Regions from separate parts of the Homo sapiens genome. Here all the other regions are linked to region 2. Evidence: promoter capture Hi-C in 16 types of primary human blood cells and fetal thymus (Javierre and others, 2016). All regions are on one chromosome and are shown on one strand. The core of a region is centred on a gene start or on the middle of the fragment in contact, and the rest is flanking DNA. Distances in the headings are between cores, read along the strand shown.

Region 1 (2,700 bases), core at 112-2,611, 590 kb before region 2:
TTCAAAATTCTGCAGAACTTTGGTCATGGCCTTACCAACTCAAGTTCTTGGCAACTTTCTTTCCTTGGCAACTTTCTTGCCACAAGAGTGATGATGAAGACTCTAGGAAAGATGTTGCCTACCGTGCTTTCTTACTTGAAAGACACAATTTTTCCAGAATGAATTTAGACCAACAAACCTGTCAGCATGGAAATCTTACCTCTCTTCTTCTGCATACCTTTTTGGCCTGCTAATAGGCATTAATTTTGAGGTCACATAACATCTGCTGCTTATGCATATAGTGATTCATTTTCTTTTGTCTGAGTAATTTATAAAGAATCTTAGGTTGGGATTAGTTTCTTCTTAATTTGTTCAGAGAGAATGAATGCCGTTTGAGTCCCATAAGAAAGATCCATCAGCATAAATGCAGGGCTAACATTGCTCACATGGCCTGGGTGGGGTGGCGCTGTCAGAACATGCTCCCTGCTGTGTGGTCAACAATCACACATCACAGACTGAACAGCAAATGCCCTGGTGGGTTTTGGCCTTGGACCCCTACTGTGAGTGTATGTACTTTTGCCCACACACGTTGTCTCCTGGCGTCCTGTGCCCGGGACAGTCCCTGCCAAACAGCTAGAAGTGGATTCCGCCGGGCGGGGCGGCTCACGTCTGTAATCCCAGCACTTTAGGAGGCCGAGGCGGGCGGATCACAAGGTCAGGAGATCCAGACCATCCTGGCTAACACGGTGAAACCCCGTCTCTACTAAAAATACAAAAAAAAAAAAAAAAATTAGCCAAGCGTGGTGGCGGGCCCCTGTAGTCCCAGCTACTCGGGAGGCTGAAGCACGAGAATGGCATGAACCCGGGAGGTAGAGCTTGCAGTGAGCAGAGATCACTCCACTGCACTCGAGCCTGAGCGACAGAGCGATACTCTGTCTCAAAAGAAAAAAAAAATAGAAGTGGATTCCTCCCATCCTTTCTTTTCAGATCTCTCCTGGCTTGACCTTCCTTCCATCTGTTCATCCTGCCTTGGTGGGGTGCTCTTCCTGACCTCACTCCTGGCCCCAGCCCCACATGTTGTATGTAGATAGCATGTTGTGTGTTTTTGTTTTTCCTGTCATAGCTTCTCTTTAGTTATTTGGCATGGATGTGTCCCCAAGGCTGCATAGCAGGGACATCTGGCACATATCTGCTGGGCAGGAGTCCACCTTGCTTTTTCTCTCCTGAGAGCCCGTTAGCTCCCATCTTTACCATCTGTGTCACTCTGCCCCCTTCTCTCTAGGACACATTCTTTCCTGAGTCATAGAGGGCTTAGAAGTTTAGGAAGAGGTTGGACTCTGACAACAGCTTCTATCCCTTTACACCTTCTGTTTTGACCTTCCTCTTGGATGCCTAGGACGGGGCCACAGCTCTGGCTGATGTCACCATGCATGCCCCACTCTGCAAACACCCAGGAACACACTTCCCATTCTTGCTGAACAGGTTCCTGAAAACTCCACAAAAAAGTAGCAAATTAACTTGCAATTAGTTGTTCCTAAGGCAAACATGCTTCAGAGGGCTTCTCACATTCTGTGTCCATTCTGCACATTTCTAGAAGAAAGTCTGACTTAAGGCCCAGTAGCTGCCACAGTTCTCAGTCCTCTTTCTCACTTGCTAATTCCCCTTTGCACCCATCTCCCCTAAAGACATTCAGCCATTGCTTCACAGGGGTACACTTGCCTCTGCATCTGTTTTCCAAAACAATTGGCGAAAATGTCCTCCCAGCTCCACCTCTGCTAGCTGAAGAGGCAACACTGTGTGAATGTGTTAGGTTGCTTATTTCTCATTGGCTGTTCTTTCCTAGAAACAACCCATCTCAAGCGGAAGTCTGTTTCATTGTTGAACAGAACAAGCAGAATGGAGAAAGTCCTCACTCTATGATTCTCCCTCTTTCCCTGGCCAGCAGGGAAACTTGCTGGAGAATCTGATCGGCACAATTAAGTGACTGAAACCATCCAGCTGGTTGTCTGGCTTTGGGCATAGCCACCGAAGCCATCGCCTGGACTTTGCAGAGCACATGCATATTTTCTCAAACTAGCTCTCTTTTGCCTTGTGTTGATTAAATTCAGAAGAGTCATAATTACTTGGATATAAGTATGCTCAACTGTGGAAATCCTGTCCTTAGAACAATCTGGTGTAACCTCCTGTAGTCAATCAAGGGCTTCAAAGAAAGCAATGGGGGCATCTAAAGTGACAACAGTTGCCTGACAAATTGCCATTTCAAATCCCTTTGAACTAGAAGAGTGAACTTAATAGCTTTCAGCTATTGATTGTTATTCTTTTAACAGGACTTTTCTTCTTGTCTTTTGGTTCGTCTGCTAAGCCCTGCTTCTGCAGCCTTGGAGACTGTTATTGCTTCCACTTTAGGTTAAAACTGAGATATTTCATACTGTTTAGTGGCTACCATCTGAATTTTGTCTTTTACTGGCTAAGTCAATCATGGCACTGGAAGGATGCCAAGAATGCCATCACTACCAATGGGGACTGCTGGTGGCAAGCTACACTAGAGCCAAACACGCTCCTGTTGAAGAGGCAATCTTAAATGAGCATTGGATATAGAGACCTGGCTTATGTCACCAGGATCTCACTTCAGGGCTGGGGAACCAAGATGGATGGAGGACTGTTCTGTGCCGGACACTTTAGATACAAAGATGAATTCCCTTTAATCCCTAAAATCATACT
Region 2 (2,700 bases), core at 24-2,523:
GGCGACACGGGACTGGGGTAGGGGTACTGGTAGATGTGGTTGTAGGGCAGCGTAGGCTGCGACGGCGGCTGCTTACTTGCCTCGTACGGTCCGGGCTGCGCCAGGCTGCCGATCTTGTTGCGCAGGATGCGGCTGATGGAGCTCACCGAAGGCACATTGTACTTGTCACAGACGCCGTCGGCCAGCAGCCGGTCGCGGATCTCCCAGGCAAAGATGCCAGGGTCTCCTTGCTTGTAGTCCCGGATGTGCTTGACCACGTTGGGAGTGGTGACGCGGGGCTTGCTCCCCCCGATGGCCCCGGGCAGAATGGAGCCGGTCTCGTTGTAGCGCGCCAGGATCTTGCTCACGCAGCCGTGGGATACGCGGAGCTGCCGACTGATGTCACAGGGTCGGATGCCCAGCTGCGCCAGCTCCACAATGCGCAAGCGGATGGCGTTGGGCAGGGGGCGGCCGTTGACGAACACACCGCCCAGCTGGTTCACCTCGCCATACGTCTGCTCTGCGGATGCGCCAGACAAGAGTGAGCCGGAGGGGGAGAAAACACCCGGCGGGTTAGCCAAGGGTCCCCACGCGGAGCGAGGGACTGCACCCAGGCGCACTTCCAAAGGTGACCTGTGGGTCCCCAGACAGCTCGGAGTCCAAGGGCAAACCGCCTGGGTCTGGCTTGGAGTGGGCAAGGGCGCAGAGGAGCCGCGGAGTGGAGCGCGGCGCATTGTAGCCCTCCGTGCCCTTTCGCGACTTTTAGCGCGTCTACTTGGAACACTCCCTTCCCAGACTTGCTCAACTGCCCCCTGAAGGCTGGGGATCAGAGGAGAATGCAGCTTCTCCAGGACCCAGGACTGGGTCGCCCAGGGAAAGCGGACGAGAGGGAAGGGAGGCAGGCGGACCCGACCCACCTCATCAGCCCTCCCGAGCCCTGCCTGTCGCCCGCCCCTTACCCATAGCGAGCGGGCCGGCCAGCTGCCTGGCGCCGGGGTGGCCGGGGTGGCCGGGGCTGGGCCCGGCGCAGTCCGGGAGAGCTTGGGCGCCGCCGCCGCCGCGTGAGAGGCATAGAGGGAGGGCGCCCGAGAGCCGAGAGCCGCGGCGGCCCAGCCGCGGGCTGGAGACGCGCTGTGCGCGGCAGCGGAGCGCGCTGCCGCCCGCTCCAGGGCCTGCCGCCGCCGCTGCTGCCCCCTCCCAGGACACTCTCCACGCCCGCGACCCCAGGCCCAGGGTGAACTTCATCCGATTGGGAGAAATTCGTCTGACCGGGAGGCTGCAGCGTGCGGGAATCAATTTGACGTGTCCTCCACGTCAATCTCGGCAGTCACGCCGGAGACGCGCGAGTTGGCAGCTCATTGGTTCCCGTCACTGCGCCCCAGCGCCCCCCTCCCCGCCCTGAAACTCTACCCCCTCCTTCTATCCTCCCCCCTCGGCCCTCTTCCACCACCCCCCCGGAACCCACCCCTCTACACACACACACACACACACACACACACACACACACACACACACGTCCCAACCCCAGCTGGGCCTGGGACCTTCCACTGCTCTGAGCCCCTTTCAGCCCCCTTCCTCCTCTAGCTTTGGGAATGAGGGGGAAGTCATCTCAAATTGATTAGTGTGTTAGTACTAGTACTCGTTTTCGTTTTGGTTTTAGTTTTATTTCCGCCACCATTAATAATAAGATAGAGAATAAAAGTTTATCGTGGAAAGGTGTTTCGGGTGTGGCTCTCTCTACCTCCCCACTCCCGGGGCAGCGGCCGGGGAAGGGTGGGATCAGTACCCCAGCTGGCTGGGAGTGTCAAGGTGAGCGTCCAGCGCGGTGCAGGGCTCCTGTCAGGAAGACACAAGGCGGAACTTGTGTCCCATTCCTGGCCAGGTCCTCAATCCTTCTCTCAGGAAATCTTCACGTTTAATAGCCAACCACTCTTGGAATAGTGGGGGTGATTTCGGTGATGCGAGAGGGGCACGGTCCAAATCCTGTCTCCTACAGCCAGGCCCAGCCACCAGAACTCATCCCTCTCCAAGCAGTGACAGAAGGGGCAGGAGGCAAAAGGATCCCGATCTGCTGCTAAGGGGCGCATAGATCCGGCGCCCTCCTGTCCCCAAGCGCGACCGGCGGGAGGCCAAATGCATAGCTCCAGCTCTAGGTCTGAAGGACAAGTTCCTTTCTCCCTGGCGGTGGAATCTCGCACCACTCTATCCCAGGTGGCCTGGCCTCGTCTTTCTCCCAGCACCTGCAGCTTCAGGAAGTCTCTGTTAAACCACAGAATGGTCATTTCTCCTTCATTTAAATGAGGTTTTGCGCAGCCCTGAATTATTCACCCCTGAGATTGAACATCAACAATTTCTCTGTTTCTACCCTGCACCAAAGCAGTTCTGAACTCCCCAACCTGTGCAGCTAACTGTGTCCGGGAGCCATGCGGTGAGGGCCAAGAGGAGGAAACTCGTGGTTTTGAACATGAACTGATTTGAGGGGGTCAGGATCTGAGAGCTCTGAGGTTGAGCCCAGTAAGCACCAAAGGCATTGGGCTGAATGTGCTAGACCAGGAAGAGGGCATAGGGGAGAGAGTAGGAACAGCCGAGGTTTCTGAGACTCCCAGCGCTCCCCTGGAGGAGAGAACCCTCTTCCCCTCCCTCCTGCCCACCCCAAGGGTCTAGCTCTCCTTAGCCACCCAGAGTTGAGTATGGCGCCAGCGCGGTGACAGTGGCTGAGGA
Region 3 (2,700 bases), core at 87-2,586, 550 kb before region 2:
TTGAATGTCAATCTGGGGAAAAACTCCTTTCCACTCTTGAAATTTTGGTTTTGGTTTTGTCTGTTTGTTTGTTTTACTGTTAGACTGTCTGCACATAAACAGAGAGACCAAGACAACAGTAAGCAATACAAATGTCAACCAACTCAACAGCTGAAACAGCTAAATCTAATACCCTGTAGAAGCACTCATGTACATCACCAATTTAAGAATTTTGTGAGAAATAGAGTACATTTTTTAGGTAAGAGACGAGTTCTCTATTAGGTTAATCATGATAATAACATTGATATACTTCAGGTCTTTTTTCATATAAGTAGTCTGCAAACACCTTCCTCTTTGATTAGTAATTTTTTTATTAGTGAGATACATGATCATCAAAAAATATGTACAGATGTTTGCCTCCCTTGAGAGTTGGCCAATTGCTCTTGCAAGGCAGGCCAGTTTCAAGGCCATTCAGACCTCGGGCACTACAAGGGGCAGCTCTATTTTGTGACAGGATCACTCCCTGTACTAGTATCAGAAATAAAGCTTGAAGGTGACATCTCCCAAGTGAACATTTATCTTTGTACTCAAAGGGCTGCTTTTTCATGATGACTGCCTCAGAGACTTTTTTCAAAAATGAAGCTCTCTGCCTCTGTTACCAAAATCCAAGGTTCTATGACAGCCTCATGCTTATAAAGTTTTCTATTTCTTCTGTAATATGTCTGTAATTCCGTAAGCCATGTCTCCCTCTCACTGTACCTGGCCCACTTATAAGGATGCAACTGAGGGTCCTATGTCTTCATTTAGAGGGCAGCAAGACCAATGCTCATCTTCAAACCATGAGCAGCCTCACTTAATGAGATTGTCTGCTCTACAGGCCCTGGGCAGTGTTCAGAACATGTTCCCAGAGACGTTATCTTTGTCTTTGTCTGCAAACTCGCAACATTCAAACTTGAGAGTCAGGAATGGCCTGTATTTTGGGATGCTATACATGGTGACATAACGGGGTTTCACTGGATTTGCTCAACATATTATCCAGTTGTATGACTGAATTGGTCCCATTTTTGCACAGATGTGGCTCCCAGAAACTTACAATATTTTTGAGTCATTCCATTGCTTTGGGTGCCACACATCTTGAAAGGAAAACACTGCACAGGTCAAGAAGTATAACTGTTAGCACTTGACCTCTGCTTTTGCATCAATTTCAAGCATTCACTTTGGTAAGTTGATATATTTCTAACATGTGGTATTGCTTCATCATTGAAGCTATATTTTTTTCTTACATTGTTAGTTCGGTAATAACATATTTACCTGATATTGGAATAGAACACAGGTTCTGGTTTAAGTCATACAGTAATGACTGGCTTTTGGTTTTTAATTGTACAATCTAAGTTAATAGCAAATCTCCTTTGTATTTGTGTATGTGTCTGTGTGTGTACATAATGATTAATACCACATATTGCAGCTATTTTGTTAAGAAGACCGTGGTCCACATATTGGTGGGGGAAAAAGAAAGAGAACATTACAAGCATGGAGATCATCAGAGAATCCTTGATTTGGGTCCTAGTTTTGTTTCTTGTTCCCTGTACAACTTTGGAAAAGTTATGTTGCCTGCCTTATACAGATTGGTTTAAGGATTGAGTGAGATAATTCATATTAAAATTTAGCTCAGTGTGACAGTGAAAATATTAGGAAGTGATAGCTAATATTAAGAAGTGTTATATAATTATTGTTTTTGTTACAAAATGAAGTTCTTATTCCTGTATTTGAATGTGCACATTTCCAGATGTTCAGTAAAACCATGTCTCAATGCAGACTTCTTTTGGGGGCTACCAGCTAGGGATCTTTAAGACACTATTAAGGCAAAATGTTCTGCTTCTATGTCTTCTGGCAATTTTTACACAATATAAAAATATGAATAAAAGTAAGTTAAATAATGTCTTTCTTAACACTTCCTTTCCAAAATGATAAAATAACTCATTAAGCACTTTCAAAACCTTTAAATGCAATGAAACCAATATCCTTGCCTAGCAAACAGACAGGAACAAGGGCAAGGTATCACAGAAAAAATGCTTTGCTTAAAACCCAGAAGAATTGAGTCCAAGGCTTTTCTTTGTCCCTGACTAGCTGTGTGATTTGAAGCAAATTAGTTCTCCAAGTCAAGCTTTTTATTTATTTATTTATTTATTTATTTATTTATGTATTTATTTATCTGCAAAATAGGAGAAAACATCCCCATATCCTAGGAATGCTGTGAGAGCTGCGATAAGTGTTGCACAATCACCTTTCTTATATTATGGAGAAAAGTCATTGTTGAAGCTGAAGGCGATTTCAGATGGTTTATTCAAAAAATGTTTTCGTGGTAGCCTCATCCTTCTAATGATACACATCCTCACAGGGTGACGACAAAGCATGAATGACAATGTGAGCCACTCGCACTGACGTACTTCAAGGGAAATCCTCTCATGACTTTATTACTTTCACAGTCTCAAGCCTCAGACCAGCTGTTAATAATTATTAAACTCACACTCTCCTTATATCTTTTTGGATTTCAAAAATATTTAGTATTGTGATTTGTGGTCAGGATTCTCTTGACTACAAATAATAGAAAACCCATTGGGGGAATTTTGGAAATAAAAGGAAGGAGAGATTTGGTTACCAGGATATGGGAGCTCTTGGAAGCAGGGGACCAGGGAGCCCCTTGGTCCGCCCCACTGCAAT
Region 4 (2,700 bases), core at 72-2,571, 840 kb after region 2:
GTGCTGGCCTATACAACAGTGGGCATGAAATCACCAACAGGGATGCCTTCCTCACTCCAGCCCAGAGCTGGTCCAGTAGGGGGCTGAGCAGAGGGGAATTTTAATGTTGTTAGGAAACGTTGTGGTTTCAGGAGGAAGAAAACCATTTTAAGCTTAAACTCTGATCAGGAAGAAGCTCTTTTCCCCTTTATGGAATGCAAAATGCCCATACCTCCATGGAGGTGTGGCAGGAAATGCTACGGAGCCAGCCAGTGAACACAGATGAAAGCTCAGTGCCCAGGTTAGAAGGCACGAGAAAGCAAGCACCGTGTGGGACAGCCATGCCTAGCATTTCAAACGGTGCAGAAAGCCAGTTGTCCATAAGGGGCTGGGAGCACTGGCAGGAGGACCAAGATCAGTGCAGGCCCTCAGGGGACATCAAGAGAAGAGCAACTCCAAGCCACGCCACCTCTGAAATCCCATCAACTCCTTTCTGAGGAGGAACTAATAGTCTATGTCAAATCTTTTAAAGTGTTCTTACCACACACACTAATAATTATTATAATAGAGGAGATGGGAAGAAACTTTGGGAAGGGATGGATGTCTATGGCCTTGATGGTAGTGATGATTTCACTGGTGTCTGCTTCTCCCCAAACTCATCAAGTTGTACACATTAATTACACACAGCTTTATACAAGTCAATCATACCTCGATAATGTGGTTTCAAAAATATTTTTGTGCGTTAGATTTCCAGTTTATTTTCTGCATGGAAGAATGTATACAGGTCTCTCTCTCTCTGGGTGTGGGTCCAATCATTTACAAGTTCTTTTGTTATCTTCTAAAGATTTCAAATTCACAAACCTTACACAAAGGGACTGTGTGTGGCCACCACGGTTGAATGAAACTTGCCCAGTTATTACAGCCAGGGTTCTGGAGTTCTGAGAGAACTAGGCAAGTGGCTTCCCACACAGAATGATGTCTTACTGAAACTCATTTCTATTGAGTCATTTAAAGGTACAATCTGGCCAGGCATGGTGGCTCACACCTGTAATCCCAGCACTTCAGGAGGACAAGGCGGATGGACCACTTCAAGCCAGGAGTTTGAGACCAGTCTGGCCAACATGGCAAAACCCTCTCTCTACTAAAAATGCAAAAATTAGCCTGGCGTGGTGGTGCACACCTGTAATCCCAGCTGCTCAGGAGGCTGAGGCAGGAGAATCACTTCAATCTGGGAGGCAGAGTTTGCAGTGAGTGGAGATCGCACCACTGTACTCCAGCCTGGGCTATAGAGAGAGACTTCATCTAAAAAAAAAAAAAAGTACAATCTTAAAATTCTTAGGACTAGAGGCCAAAAGATGGTGTCTTTTTTTTTTAGTGCTTCTTTTCACTCCTCAATATATTTCTATGCCAAAGACTAAGAATATTTGCCCAAATTTTGCCAGCTCCATCTCTTCCCTCCTCTTCAAGAACTCTCTCTAGAGGAAGTGAGCTAAGTTCTCCAGAGCTTTCTTTCACGGGATATGGAGAAAACACATAACATCAACCACCTTTGGTGCAGGAAGAAAACTAATTAGATGGGCAATGCTGTAAGCCATATCTATTTGTTTTAGATTTTCTTCAGTCTAAAAGAGTTGAGCCTGAAATGGATAAATGTGTCATTTCCCTTGAATGTGAGTGAGTATTAGAGACTCATTCTCCTAGACCCATTGAGTACTCTGTAATTCAAGGGCTTTTTCTTTATTCCTCCAATAAAAATGTCTTGAGGTTTTCTGGAAGTGGAGACCGAAAACACATGAGGGCTTCCTCTCACTGGTTTTGACTCTGATTTTTCAAAGAAGTTGGGTGCACCAGAGATAGAGATGTGGACAAAGTGGTCAGACACACACATCGTTCACTCCGTAATGCACACTAACACACTCATAGTGATTCCGTGAGCTCTTATTTTCTGCATTTGAACATTTCTTTCTTGCTGTATTATGCTTCTACGCCTCTGTTATTAGATGCACCTGCTCATACAAGTTTGCTATCATTTATCTCACTTACAGTAACATCGAGCACACCATTAGTGTTGCTTAGAATTACCCCAGCTCCAATGAAGATGCCTTAATAGTTTTGAAGGAACGCCACCCAAATTACAGTGTGTGGGTGAGAGAGTTCACCAGTCTATAAATGTGAAGATCTTCAAGCATTGTGCTACATTCTCTTTTATTCATTTTCTCTGAAGCAGGTTAAACCTCTTGAATTAAGATCTATGCTCAGATGCCAATGGAAATGGAGTGTGTTCAGAAACTGATGTTTACTTGAATGTGTTTATTGCTTAAGTGTCATTTCTGCCTTCATCCCTTTCATTGTCTTTTTGAGCTTTGAGAAAGGAATCCAGTATTTCCAGTTTTTTCTTTATCATTTCTCCCAAATATGTGCTATTTGAGTTGTTATGGCTGAGAGCTATAATAACTTTCTTTTTTTTAATTGCCCTACTAAATTTTAAAAATAATAGTTAAGGAAGCTTTAGTTGATTTCAATTAAGAGATGCTATGTAATGCAATTAAGAAATGCTGTATAAATTGCCTTCCATTCCAACAGTGAAAAGAATTCATGTTGCTTTTTAGGATTCTACATGCCTCTTTAAGTCCATGTACAGCCTAACGCCACAGTCATTCCCTTCCTAATTTCTATCTTGCAGAGGCAGGAGAGAATCATGGCCAATGGCAGTATTGCAAG
Region 5 (2,700 bases), core at 72-2,571, 530 kb before region 2:
CCATTGTAAGCTTTGATTCCTCTTCTCTGCCCATATGTGTCACCATCCCCTGCAGTGATCCTGGCCTCCTTTCATCAAAACATGGTTATTGATTGAGTTACTATTCATTCATTAAGCTGGCTCTTACTAAGGACTATTTGGGGCCAGGCCTTGTTCCAAGAGTGAGAACACAACACTCACAGGGTTTAACTTCTATTGTTAACAAATCAACAAACAAAAATACAGTATAATGGCTGGGCACGTTGGCTCATGCCTGTAATCCCAGCACTTTGGGAGGCTGAGGCAGGCGGATCACCTGAGGTCAGGAGTTTGAGACCAGCCTGACCAATATGGTGAAACCCCGTCTCTACTAAAAGTGAAAAATTAGCCGGCCGTGCTGGTGCATGGCTGTAATCCCAGCTACTTGAGATGCTGAGGCAGGAGAATTGCTTGAACCTGGGAGGCAGAGGTAGCAGTGAGCTGAGAGATCATGCCATTGCACTCCAGCCTGGGCAACAAGAGTGAAACTCCATCTCAAAAAGAAAGAAAGTGAGAAAGAGAGAGAAAGAAAGAAAGAGAGAGAGAGAGAGAAAGAGAGAGAGAGAGAAAGAAAGAAAGAAAGAAAGAAAGAAAGAAAGAAAGAAAGAAAGAAAGAAAGAAAGAAAAAAAGAAAGGAAGGACGGACGGAAGAAAGGACAGAGGGAGGGAAGGAAGGAAGGGAAAGAGCGACAGAAGAAAGAATAAAGAAAGGAAGAAAGAAAGAAAGAAGGAAAGAAAGAAAAGAAAGAAAGAAGTCAATGGTAAGCATAAAAGAGATAAAGAATTTTTTTTTTTAAAGAGGGGAGATAGGCTATTACTGATGGAGTGGCTAGGCTAGGTGTCTCTAAGGGTTTAATATTTGAGTAGAGAACTACCTCCACTTTTAGTTGAGAAAACTGAGGTTTAGGGAGCGACGTGTCTAAGGTCATACTGTGATAGTTGAAATTTGCTGCCAAGCCTTTTCACCAAAGTCCCAACCTACAAAAGCTATCCTGAGACCTAGGAGTGTGGAGAGGGACAGATAGGTAGAGGTTCAAGCTATCTCCTGTAATGAAGGAAACGGAGAATTTTTTTCTGTCGGTGTCTTCAGAGAACATAATGTCTCTTAATAATTTACTGTTCATGTTTAAGACTAGGAAGCATCCACAAGTTTCACATGATGAAGGAATTGATCATTTAACAGTAAGCTTACCTGCTATTAAAAAGAGGAAGGGGAAGGAGGAGGAGCAGGGAAAGGAGCAGAAATCAATACTTGTCTTGGATGCCAGGCCTCACAATTGAGCTGATGGAAGAAATGCTCCCATTGGCCAAGGTAACCTGAGCATAATATGAACACCGACTTCCTCTGCATATGCCGTATTCTGGTATTTGTGGCCTCAAATGTCAGCACAAGAGAAGTCCTTTAAATTTCCAAGCTTCCTGGTTATGTGATATTGATTAGTTTTTTTTATATTTTATGTCCTGTAATTTCATTTTCAGGCTCATAAACTATATAGCACCAAACCAAGGCTGTTTCATATCTAAGAGACTTTTCAAAACCTTAAAAATAATTCTGTTTTTTTATTCAGCATCATTTTCCACTAGCTATATACCATCTTATGTTGAAAAACCTTTTCAGATGGTTTTGTTGGATGCTTTCTTCAGCTCCTGTATGGCCTACGCATGTCCATCTGGAGTTCAGGCTTCCCATCCCATTGCCCATTGACAAGTTAAGTAAGGACATGCCAGGTCTGTTTTGAGTTTATAAATGTATGTGTGAAGCAAATTCAATTCATTAACAGCTTGTGCTGAACTTTAACTTTTATGAGCATTGGATGTTTTTCTTGCCTTTCCCTACCAGGGAGAATCACATTTCAAAAAGCGAAAGCGAGAGATAGGAGAAAACAGGCCTAAGAGGCCAGCTCCTATGGAGAACGGGCTTGTGCTCTTCATGGTGGCATTTGCCAACCCCTCTAAATGCTACCTCAGGCAACCCAGGAGACACCAGCAGATAGCTTATGGGGAGAGGTAGGCTAGGAGAGGCTACTGCCCAAGGAGGATGGGAAGGGAGTTTTCCTATCTGCACTTCTATTTGTTGTTAGCTCCTGTATCCATGCAGAGCAAGGGTAATATTCTGTGGTTTCTCCCAAGTCGACCCCCTGGGCTCGTGGGCTGTCAGCAGGGTCCCTGAGAGATCCAGCCCCGGGCCTCACGTGGTCTTGGTTACACACTTTCCCAGGTGTGCAAAGAGACATCTGCGTCCCACTAGGAGTGGGACACCTGGGCTAGACTGCTCAGCCACTGAACAGAGACCAGAGGCAAAGTCCTGTCTTTCAGGTTCTGTTCTCGCCCTCGAGAAAGACTTGCCTTTGAGGTTTCAGCAAACCAGGGGGATCCCGACCTCCAGGAAGGCAATAGAAGCCGCCTGCTCCCTGGCACGCGGAGCCTCCGAGCCCTCCGCTGATGACATATGAGCTGCTGACAGTACTGCCAATGTCTGAATTAAAGTTTATGTACTGACACACGGGGCGAAGAGAGAATTTTAGAGTCAGGATGTGAAAGTTCTTTTTCTTTCCACATTGGAGGTAATTACAGGCAAGTCCCGCTCCGAGCAGAAAGGAGGGCCCAGAGCAAGCAGTGCTGTTTACTGTAGTTCCAGGTGAGCTTCTTGCTGAGAGCTCTCCATTTTCATAATGGATGTAA

What was found. Contacts are between HindIII fragments. The CHiCAGO score rates a contact against its expected background, and 5 or more counts as called.
Region 1: a fragment that was not itself captured here is called in contact with the fragment with the promoter of PAX1 in region 2 in 2 of 17 cell types (M2 macrophages and endothelial precursors); the score reaches 6.1 in M2 macrophages.
Region 3: a contact is called between a fragment that was not itself captured here and the fragment with the promoter of PAX1 in region 2, in 1 of 17 cell types (endothelial precursors). The highest score is 5.1, in endothelial precursors.
Region 4: a contact is called between a fragment that was not itself captured here and the fragment with the promoter of PAX1 in region 2, in 1 of 17 cell types (M2 macrophages). The highest score is 5.4, in M2 macrophages.
Region 5: a contact is called between a fragment that was not itself captured here and the fragment with the promoter of PAX1 in region 2, in 1 of 17 cell types (endothelial precursors). The highest score is 5.7, in endothelial precursors.

Annotation. Positions count from the first base shown.
Region 1 is chr20:22,294,977-22,297,676 of GRCh38, reverse strand. No RefSeq gene overlaps it. Among named protein-coding and RNA genes, the nearest start is that of LINC01427, 14 kb to the right of the region's middle. The HindIII fragment of the contact is 2,950 bases long and covers 1-2,700 here.
Region 2 is chr20:21,704,237-21,706,936 of GRCh38, reverse strand. It overlaps PAX1 (paired box 1), which reads right to left and starts at 1,273. Exons shown (of 5, transcript NM_001257096.2): 1 at 939-1,273; 2 at 1-499. The coding sequence starts at 1,224. The HindIII fragment of the contact is 9,231 bases long and covers 1-2,700 here.
Region 3 is chr20:22,257,662-22,260,361 of GRCh38, reverse strand. No RefSeq gene overlaps it. Among named protein-coding and RNA genes, the nearest start is that of LINC01427, 24 kb to the left of the region's middle. The HindIII fragment of the contact is 1,618 bases long and covers 528-2,145 here.
Region 4 is chr20:20,860,403-20,863,102 of GRCh38, reverse strand. No RefSeq gene overlaps it. Among named protein-coding and RNA genes, the nearest start is that of LINC03083, 110 kb to the left of the region's middle. The HindIII fragment of the contact is 2,333 bases long and covers 155-2,487 here.
Region 5 is chr20:22,235,988-22,238,687 of GRCh38, reverse strand. No RefSeq gene overlaps it. Among named protein-coding and RNA genes, the nearest start is that of LINC01427, 45 kb to the left of the region's middle. The HindIII fragment of the contact is 228 bases long and covers 1,208-1,435 here.